Regions from separate parts of the Homo sapiens genome. Here regions 2 and 3 are each linked to region 1. Evidence: promoter capture Hi-C in 16 types of primary human blood cells and fetal thymus (Javierre and others, 2016). All regions are on one chromosome and are shown on one strand. The core of a region is centred on a gene start or on the middle of the fragment in contact, and the rest is flanking DNA. Distances in the headings are between cores, read along the strand shown. Region 1 holds the start of MYG1 (MYG1 exonuclease). Region 2 overlaps EIF4B (eukaryotic translation initiation factor 4B). Region 3 overlaps ATF7-NPFF (ATF7-NPFF readthrough).

Region 1 (3,303 bases), core at 538-3,037:
GGTACTATGTAGAGAAGGTGAGTGAGAGCATGTGGATGCCCCTCTAAACAGGGAAGGGAAATTCAGGGGAAGCTCTAGAGCGCAGCATGGCCAGAGGGAGTCTCCTTTTAGCCCCTTATTCACCTCTGATCTTGTAGACAGCTGAGGATGCCAAGGACTTCTTCAAGAGGAAGATAGATTTTCTAACCAAGCAGATGGAGAAAATCCAACCAGCTCTTCAGGAGAAGCACGCCATGAAACAGGGTAAGTTTTTCCTGGGGCACCTCTTGACCCTATCTCCATAATAAGGAACATGGATTGCAGTGTGAACCACGGGGGTGTCCCCTTTGCTGGAGTAAAACTATGTCTTAGTTTCTCTTTGGCATCTTTAGAATCTGTGTATTGCATAATCACTATCTGTAGATTCCTGGGTTGAGCGTTTGAGAAATTTAGAGGAAGGAAATCATGTTTGTGCTTTGGTGGAGCTCCTATTTAATGACGATGGAATGGGGGAATGAGATGAACACACAGGAAGGAATCATGATCCAAACGAACTAAATACCAGCAATTATAACCCCGACTGCACATGAGAATCACTCAGGAAGTTTAAAAAGAAAGCTTGGGCCCATTCCAGATTGACTAAATCAACTTGGAAGTCAAAGGAGGGGAAGTTGTACCAAGGTCTGTTTTTTTTTAAAAAAGCTCCCCTCTGTTATAATCAGGATTCAGAACCAGTGTTCCAAAGGTAAAAATCTTTCCCCATCATAGTTTTCTGATTATGTCAGACTCATTTAATACCATATTGTGTTCGTTTTTATATCTTTGGTTAGCAGGTTTTTTTTTTTTCCGAGAAGAGTCTCATTCTCACCACACCCAGCTGTGTTAGCATATTGACCGATGCATTGTAGACCCTAAATTTGTGTTAGTGACCCCACAGTGGATCACTGAGTTAAAGTTTTATTAACAATGCCAGGCGCAGTGGCTGACGCCTGTAATCCCAGCACTTTGGGAGGCCAAGGCAGGTGGATCACCTGAGGTTAGGAGTTCAAGACCAGCCTGGCCACCATGGTGAAACCCCATCTCTACTAAAAATACAAAGTTAGCCCGGGCATGGTGGTGCATGCCTGTAATCCCAGCTGTTCGGGAGGATGAGGCAGGAGAATCGCTTGAACCCGGGAGACGGAGGTTGCTGTGAGCCAAGATCGTGCCACTGCACTCCAGCCTCGGTGACAAGAGCAGGATTCTGTCTCAAAAAAAAAAAAAAAAGGTTATTAACAAACTGTAGTTAGTCGGTCGCCTGTCCTTAAACTTGCCTGTCACTTCTCCTTAACTCTAGGTTCTCCTTTTTGCTTCTAACCTTTGACTCTTATTTTTTTCCACAGCCGTCATGGAAATGATGAGTCAGAAGATTCAGCAGCTCACAGCCCTGGGGGCAGCTCAGGCTACTGCTAAGGCCTGAGAGTTTTTGCAGAAATGGGGCAGAGGGACACCCTTTGGGCGTGGCTTCCTGGTGATGGGAAGGGTCTTGTGTTTTAATGCCAATAAATGTGCCAGCTGGGCAGAATGTTGGTCTTTTCTTGGATTAAGCAAGGGACTGGTGATGAGATGGGGGGTGTGGTCGAGAGTGTGGGCCCCGTCTCAGAGCCTGATGCGCAGGGGTGATGCGATGCGCCTCTTGGAGGCTCCATCGCAGGGCCCTTTGACCAGCTGGAAGAAATCCTAGGCTGGGAGTCTGCTGCTGCTCACTCTGCAGAGCTGGTTGCCAAGGGAACGGTTGGCAAGCGGAAGTGGGGCTGCGCTGGCGCTTCCTCTTCCGGGTCGGCGCTCCTGCCTCCCTGCAGGGAGCTGCTTATGGGACACCAATTCCTGCGCGGCCTCTTAACGCTGCTGCTGCCGCCGCCACCCCTGTATACCCGGCACCGCATGCTCGGTCCAGAGTCCGTCCCGCCCCCAAAACGATCCCGCAGCAAACTCATGGCACCGCCCCGAATCGGGACGCACAATGGCACCTTCCACTGCGACGAGGCACTGGCATGCGCACTGCTTCGCCTCCTGCCGGAGTACCGGGTACGGTCCGCGAAAAGTGACCCTGGGACTGCGTGCATGCATGCCTCCGGGGTGGATGGCATTCCGCCAACAGGGTCACTCCGATAGCGCCCGGCAGCCCAAGCACCCTTCCTACCCTTCCTGCCTCCCTGAAGTCCAGCATTAATCCCCTACCCGGCGACACCCGGCAGCCCCTTCACCCCTGTGTACCTCGCAGGATGCAGAGATTGTGCGGACCCGGGATCCCGAAAAACTCGCTTCCTGTGACATCGTGGTGGACGTGGGGGGCGAGTACGACCCTCGGAGACACCGATATGACCATCACCAGAGGTAGGTTCTCAGATACCATTTATTTAACTTCCTTGACCTCAGCTTTCCTCTGTGCTCCAATTCAGCCATCCACTGCCGTAGTCCGCGTCAGCGAAAAGAACTGCTTCATCACTGAAATCAAACTCCCACTAGGACTACATCATCCTTCCGGCCCTGCCTGTTCTTCACCCATCTCCCTGGCCTGGGACCTCCTTTGGTTCCCAGGGAGTCCCTCAGGCCCCTTATCTCATCTCCTTCCTTAGCCAAGGCTTTTTTTCCATCAGCAACTTCATCACCCCAACTAAATAAACCCATCTGTGATTAATCCATTCTGGTGCCCTTGCTGCTGCACCTAACTGCTGGGCCCACATGATTGTGGCAGTTGGTGACAGTTCAGATGTGTGAAGTTTTCTACTTCATTTACACCCTTCCAAAGGGAAATCCTTCTTGCTCAAGGGTAGCCCATTCCAATCCTTTTCTTCTCCCTCAAGCCTCTACCGCATCAAACTGAGTGTCCCTGCCTCTTTTCAAAAGAAGTTGAGCATTTCCTCAGTCTCCCACCTCAAACATCCTCAGCTCCCTCCTACCAACTAAGGGAAATTTCTTCCCTTCTATTGGAGGTTAATCCTCTGTCCTGTTTCCAGTCTATTACTTTCTTCTCTGGGATTCTTTTTTCTTTTCTTTTTTTTTTTTTTTGAGACGGAGTCTCCCACTGTCGCCCAAGCTGGAGTGTAGTGGCACGATCTCGGCTCACTGCAACCTCTGTCTCCCAGGTTCAAGCGATTCTCCTGTCTCAGCCTCCCGAGTAGCTGGGACTACAGGCACCCACCACCACACCCGGCTAATTTTTGTATTTTTAGTAGAGACGGGTTTCACCATATTGGCCAGAGTGGTCTCGAACTCCTGGCCTTGTGATCTGCCCCGCCTTGGCCTCCCAAAGTGCTGGGATTACAGGTGTGAGCCACTGTT
Region 2 (3,303 bases), core at 592-3,091, 280 kb before region 1:
TGCTATGCCCAGACGTTCAAGGTCACTCAAGGGATTTGTGCATAATGGGGCAAAAGGTTGGTTAATATGGTCCTATGCTCTCAGTCTCTAGGTAACAGGAGAATTCGAGTGGACGTTGCTGATCAAGCACAGGATAAAGGTAAGGAAACTGGTAGAGATTTCTGTTTGGTAATGGTCCCAGGATGACACCAAGCCATCCTTTCCCAGAAAATTTGAATAGGGGTAGTGGTGGGCCTGCCTGAATCTACAGTAACAGTTTTCAATCAGTTTTGCCCCACAGGGGACTTCTGGCAATGTTTGAAGACATTGTAGTTGTCACAATTGGAGGGAGTGCTGCTGACATAAGTAGAATCCAGGGGTTAATTCTATAGGGAATAGGACAGTCCCCATCAACAAAGAATTATGCAGCCCAAAATGCATGTCAAGATTGAGAAGACTGATTGATCTAGATGAACATTAAATAGATGATAAATAGATTAGCTGCCTAACAGCACGTTGGTCACAAAGGGGACCTAATTTGTATATGTTTCAGGGACTCCTGGCCCATACAGAATTTGAGATAGCTAAGCATTAAACCAATAGGAAAAAACGGGAGGAAAAGAGCCACCTGGGGTTGAATTGGAGCATGTACTTATGGGGCCTGAGGTAACTGGGATGACAGTGTGACGTGAAAGTGAAAAATAGGGTAAAATGGGGGTTTTCTATGTGTGAGAAATATTGGGCAAAGTTTTTATGAGATAACTTACGGTTTTTGTTTTAATGTATCTGTAGACAGGGATGATCGTTCTTTTGGCCGTGATAGAAATCGGGATTCTGACAAAACAGATACAGACTGGAGGGCTCGTCCTGCTACAGACAGCTTTGATGACTACCCACCTAGAAGAGGTGATGATAGCTTTGGAGACAGTAAGTTTGTTTTTATGAAGTTAGCTTCCTCTGTGCTTTGGGAGGCTATTTAGTAATAGGACAAATGTGTTACAGATGATCAGATCACATTAACAGATAGAAGGAGGAAAGCAGATTAAGAAAAATTTTGGATAGTATCTGAAAGAACTGATAGATGCAGGAAACGAATTTGATAAATTAATAATTTTTTTTGAAAACTTAACCAAACAAAGGGACAGACATTTCTCTTTTTTTGGAGACAATTGTTTATAAAGAAACCCAAACTGGGCATGGTGGCTATAATCCCAACGCTTTGGGAGGTCAAGGCAGGTGGATTGCTTAAGGCCAGGAGTTTGAGAGCAGCCTGGGCGACAAAACAAGACCCTGTCTACCAAAAAGAAAAAGAAAAAGCTGACGTGGTGGTACGCACCTGCAGTCCTAGCTGTTCAGCAAGCTGAGGCAAGAGGACTCCTTGAGCCCAGGAGGTCTAGACTGGGTGACAGAGCGAGACCCTGTCTCAAAAAAAAAAATCCAACAGATTCTACAAAGTGAGCTATTTGAAATAAGAGTTCAGCATGATTGCTGAGTGAAGAGCAGCATACAAAGATCAGTTGCATTACTTTTTGATATATATATATATTTTTGAGACGGAGTCTCGCTGTGTCGCCCAGGCTGGAGTGCAGTGGCGTGACCTTGGCTCACTGCAACCTCCACCTCCTGGATTCAAGTGATTCTCCTGCCTCAGCCTCCCAAGTAGCTGGGACTACAGGCGCGCGCCACCACACCCAGCTAATTTTTGTATTTTTAGTAGAGATGGGGTTTCACCATGTTGGCCAGGATAGTCTTGATCTCTTGACCTCATGATCCGCCCGCCTTGGCCTCCCAAAGTGCTGGGATTACAGGCGTGAGCCACTGCGCCTGGCCCATCAGTTGCATTACTATATGCTTGTAGCAAACAATTAAAATGTAAAATTTTTTTTTTTTTTTTTTTTTTGAGACAGAGTTTCGCTCTTGTTGCCCAGGCCGGAGTGCAATGGCATGATCTCAGGTCACCTCAACCTCCGCCTCCTAGGTTCAAGCGATTCTCCTGCCTCAGCCTCCCGAGTAGCTGGGATTACAGGCATGTGCCACCATGCCTGGCTAATTTTGTATTCTTAGTAGAGATGGGGTTTCTCCATGTTGGTCAGGCTGGTCTCGAACTCCTGACCTCAGGTGATCCTCCTGCTTCAGCCTCCCAAAGTGCTGGGATTACAGGCATGAGCCACTGCACCTGGCCTAAAATGTAACTTTCTAAAATAAAAATATTGATTCACTTTAAAAATACTCAAGATATAGCAGTGAACAAAGATACAGCAGTGTAATTTTTTTCTAATAAAAATTGATTCACTTAAATGCTCAAGATACAGCAGTGAACAAAAACAAGAAAATCCTGTCTTTATTGGGCATACATTATTATAGTGGAGGGAAGAGACAGTGTGTGAATAATTAAACAGTTGGGGTGCGGAAAGATAGGTGAGTGGGAAATATCATGGGGTAGGAGTAGAGATTAATTACATACATCACTTTAACAAAGACCTTTATGGGGAAAATTATGCAACTTTATTAAAATACACAAAAGTAGACCACACTATTTTTAAAATGGAAAGAAGCTACTACCTAGTAAAAATAAATAAATAGTGGTTTGTCTGTAATCAAATACTTAATAGCATAACAACAGGGATAAAATTCAAAACCTGTTACATTAAGGGGAAAAAAATTGTGTATAAATTTGAAAACAATACCATGTAGTATTAATGCATAAGTTGTAAAATTATAAAGCTACGCATGGTAATTTAACCACCCTTTTAATTGTTGGTGGGGATAGGGAAAATTCTGTTTTTAGTCTGTAACATATTTCTTTTAAACAAAAAACAAACATGGCAAAATATGACATTCACTAAACCTAAGTAATAGGTTCATAAGTTTGTTATAATGGTGTCTTTACTTTTCTGTATGTTTGAAATAGTTTAAGTAAAAACAGACCAACTTAAATTTACAAGCTCTTTGTTTTGTTTTGTTTTGTTTTGTTTTGACACAGTCTCTCTGTGTTGCCCAGACTGGAGTGCAGTGGCAATCTTGGCTCACTGCAACCTCTGCCTGCCAGGTTCAGGGTGTTCCTCATGCCTCAGCCTCCTGAGTAGCTGGGATTACAGATGCGCACCACCACACCTGGCTAATTTTTGTATTTTTTAGTAGAGATGGGGTTTCACCACGTTGGCCAGCTGGTCTCTAACTCCTTACCTCAGATGATCTGCCTGCCTTGACCTCCCAAAATGCTGGGATTACAGGTGTGAGCCAGCGCTCCCAGCACAAGCATTTTAATTTTGTGAGGTACCTTTTGAGCTTTGTACTAAATATAATTGGGGAAGCAGTAAGGGA
Region 3 (3,303 bases), core at 583-3,082, 270 kb after region 1:
TCTAGTGAGATTTATTCACTATCAATGAGAGCAGCATGGGAAAAACCTGCCCCTCATGATTCAATTACTTCCCATTAGGTCCCTCCCACAATACATGGGGATTATTACAATTCAAGGTGAGATTTAGGAGAGGATACAGCCAAAGTATATCAGCTATAAACTATAAACTATCAGTCCTGAGAAGACTGTTGTCAATTAATGCCTTGTATAACTGGATTGCTCAGGAGAAGGGAGAGTAAGGCAGTGAAAGGGAAGGGGCAATAGGTTTGAGGAAGACATTATTGGTTTCTTAACCCAACCCCCATTTTTCAACCATTTTCTCTTGCTTGCCTCACTATAAAGGCTGAAAAGCAAGATATTCCTTTTTCCTATGCAGCTGGTATTAAACCTGTCACACAGTTCAGGCCAATAAGACAATGAAATCCACCGTGGTGGGGGTGGAGGATGGCACTTCTGATGTAAGGCTTTTGTCTCCTTATAAAAGGGAAAGCCAGAACAAGAGAGTTCCTGATGCTACCTGCCCCTTATTTCTTTCCCATCCTCTGATAGTGAGGCAACAGGAATGAGGATTAAAAGGTAAAAGCTAAAAATGGTACAGCAGAGAGAAAGAACCTAGGTCCTTGATAAACTTGCTTAGCTGCTGAAACAGTCCTAATTCTGGACACCTTGTGTTATAAATGTTGACACAGTTTTTTTTTGTTTTTGTTTTTGCTTTGTTTTGAGATGCAGTCTTGCTCTCTTGCCCAGGCTGCAGTGCAATGGCATGATCTTGGCTCACTGCAACCTCTGCCTCCCGGGTTCAAGCAATTCTCCTGCCTCAGCCTCCTGAGTAGCTGGGATTACAGACACACGCCACCATGCCCAGCTAATTTTTGTATTTTTAGTACAGATGGGGTTTCACCATCTTGGTCAGGCTAGTCTCGAACTCCTGACCTTGTGATCCGCCCGCCTCTGCCTCCCTAAGTGCTGGGATTACAGGCGTGAGCCATTGCGCCCAGCCTGTGTTCACACAGTTTTAAGCTACTGTTAGGTATTTGCATCTGAAACCATTCCTAACCAATATACGATTTTCAATATGTATAGATTCTACTTCATTTTCTATCTAAGGAACTTAGAAATGGAATATACAAGAAATTATTTTATTCTACATCTTCATGAATATTTATCAGTTGTATCCTAATGCTGAATTCTGTTTTCTTTTTCACATAATATACCAAATAAATTCCATCTCATCACCACCTATTGCCTCAAGCTTCCTTAGAAACAATGGCTATACACTGGGCTTTTAGGAAGAACAAGATGGTAAGAGAGTGGCACCTTACAATGCTGCTTTGGAAACTGGGGCAGTTAAAGATCACTCCTCACTAAAGAATGGAGTTTTAGACTGGAGCAGCATGTTTTCTTATTTCTCGCTGCCCCTCTTCCTCAATACCCAGTGTTTGGCTTTTTATCAAACTCCAGGGCACTCTTGGGAACTACGCTTAAGAATTAACAAGGATAGATCCATTATCTTTCCTTAGATGGCAGCTACTTACTTGGATGGGTTAAATGCTCAACAAACTTTAAAGGACCAGTGCCTAGGAGGCAGAGAAATCCCAGCAGCAATTCAGCCAGGCCTGGTCCTATGTCAGTTACATGGCTAATTGCTTTCTCCACAGCTCTTGCCTAATGGTAGACCTTTTAGTATTCTCCTATCCAGATGTAGCCACTTAGCTGGGGTACCATTAAAGTCCCCAAAGGGATAACTGTAGTTCTTAACAAAGCAAGAAAAGGTTATTTTAAAATCAAAATAATTATCACACAGCCCTATTAAGTTCTTGTTGACATTATACATTTCTATTTTTCAATCTCATCTCTCTCCCCAAATTCTTATTAGGATGTTATGAGGTACAAAATCCTTGAAAAACGTATCAAATACTTTTATCTTCTAATTTGCTACACATTAAGTGTTACAATTTCTGGATCTCACAAATGGGTGGGAAGGACAAAGTTACAGAGTGAAAAGTATGAACCTACTACATTGTGGTTTGGCTTGAGCTGCTGAAAATTTCACTGTGGAAAAACTATACTGTAAATACTTCCTGATAATACAGGAGTTTTAAAATTTTGAATGCTTACAATGCATTCAGAGTAGAGCACATACAAGTCAGTACTGAGACCACAATAACAAAAACCCTGCCCTGATCTTTAAGGCCTTATGCAGTTTAGTACTGTAACAGTCAAGCCAAAAGAAAATATATAACTGGAAGGTGAGGAGGGGGAGAGAACCAATGAGCGTGCTCACATGCACTCGTCTCTAAAACCGTCTCTAAACTTGGTTCAAGTTTACAAGGAGATTACGCACACACACTCTCTCTCTCTCTTTCTCTCTCTCTCCTTCCCTCACTTTAAAATAATACCAAAATACAGTATTAAGCTTTTGTTTTAAACAAGCTATCAAAGCTTACAGGCCCAGGGACTCGGAAACCACAGAAGAGGTTGCAGCCTGGTAAAGAAATAGGCAACGATAAAGGCTCAAATAGTTTGGCAGGTCTTCTATATAAACCATAAACTGGTCAAGTGCTCTAATTCTGCCCTGCTATCTTAATTTAATGCAGCAAAAAATTCTTACCATAATTTGTTGACATATTCATCTGATTATCTTTGTGTCTAACCAGGAAAGCTCTGATAAGCTATCTTTAGTTTTACAAAGTCAGGCAAATGGAAAACTTCAATTTTGGATGTTTACTTTCTAACCATAAGTGATATTTTTTAGAATGCTGGCCACAGACTAGAGGTCTACACTCAAAGAAGGCAGGCAGGCAGGTAGGGGCAAAGAATGAAATTGCAGCTAAGCACTGTGGCTCATGCTGGTAATCCCAGCTACTTGGGAGGCTGAGGCAGGAGGATCACCTGAGGAATTTGAGACAAGCCTGGGCAATATATATTGAAATCCTGTCTCTTAAAAAATTTAAAGAGTAGCCAGGCATGGTGGCACATGCCTGTAGTCCCAGCTACTTGGGAGGCTGAGAAAGAGAGAGAGAGAAAGGAGGTTCCCTTGAGCCCAGGTGTTTGAAGCTGCAGTAAGCTATGATTGTGCCACTGCACTCCGGCCTGGGCGACAGAGGAGGGCTCCATGTCTCTTAAAAAAAATAAAAAATAAAAAAGGAATCTACACTGCCTATCAGTAACACTTATCCACATACTTCTAGACAGTCATAGTGATCCAACACAGAAGAACAGCAGCAGCTGGGGAAATTGTCTTGTTCCTGTCTCATCTCCTGCTGCTCTCCATCACAGTACTAAACTACTTGCATTTTTTCT

The links. Contacts are between HindIII fragments. The CHiCAGO score rates a contact against its expected background, and 5 or more counts as called.
Region 2: a contact is called between a fragment that was not itself captured here and the fragment with the promoter of MYG1 in region 1, in 2 of 17 cell types (erythroblasts and naive CD8 T cells). The highest score is 10.7, in erythroblasts.
Region 3: a contact is called between a fragment that was not itself captured here and the fragment with the promoter of MYG1 in region 1, in 1 of 17 cell types (erythroblasts). The highest score is 5.2, in erythroblasts.

The regions. Positions count from the first base shown.
Region 1 is chr12:53,297,908-53,301,210 of GRCh38, forward strand. It overlaps MYG1 (MYG1 exonuclease), which reads left to right and starts at 1,788. Exons shown (of 7, transcript NM_021640.4): 1 at 1,788-2,046; 2 at 2,243-2,355. The coding sequence starts at 1,831. PFDN5 (prefoldin subunit 5) reads left to right here. Exons shown (of 6, transcript NM_002624.4): 4 at 1-17; 5 at 138-243; 6 at 1,362-1,543. The coding sequence ends at 1,438. RefSeq lists enhancers at 760-1,959, 1,463-1,552, 1,593-1,692, 1,598-1,892, 1,703-1,762 and 1 more. The HindIII fragment of the contact is 10,124 bases long and covers 596-3,303 here.
Region 2 is chr12:53,021,722-53,025,024 of GRCh38, forward strand. It overlaps EIF4B (eukaryotic translation initiation factor 4B), which reads left to right. Exons shown (of 15, transcript NM_001417.7): 5 at 85-139; 6 at 772-906. Among named protein-coding and RNA genes, the nearest start is that of EIF4B, 17 kb to the left of the region's middle. The HindIII fragment of the contact is 3,982 bases long and covers 1-3,303 here.
Region 3 is chr12:53,566,052-53,569,354 of GRCh38, forward strand. The region is part of intron 2 of ATF7-NPFF (ATF7-NPFF readthrough); the gene reads right to left. All of the region lies in intron 2 of ATF7 (activating transcription factor 7), which reads right to left. The region is part of intron 2 of LOC124902937 (a long non-coding RNA gene); the gene reads left to right. Among named protein-coding and RNA genes, the nearest start is that of ATF7-AS1, 54 kb to the left of the region's middle. RefSeq lists an enhancer at 3,005-3,303. The HindIII fragment of the contact is 1,164 bases long and covers 1,251-2,414 here.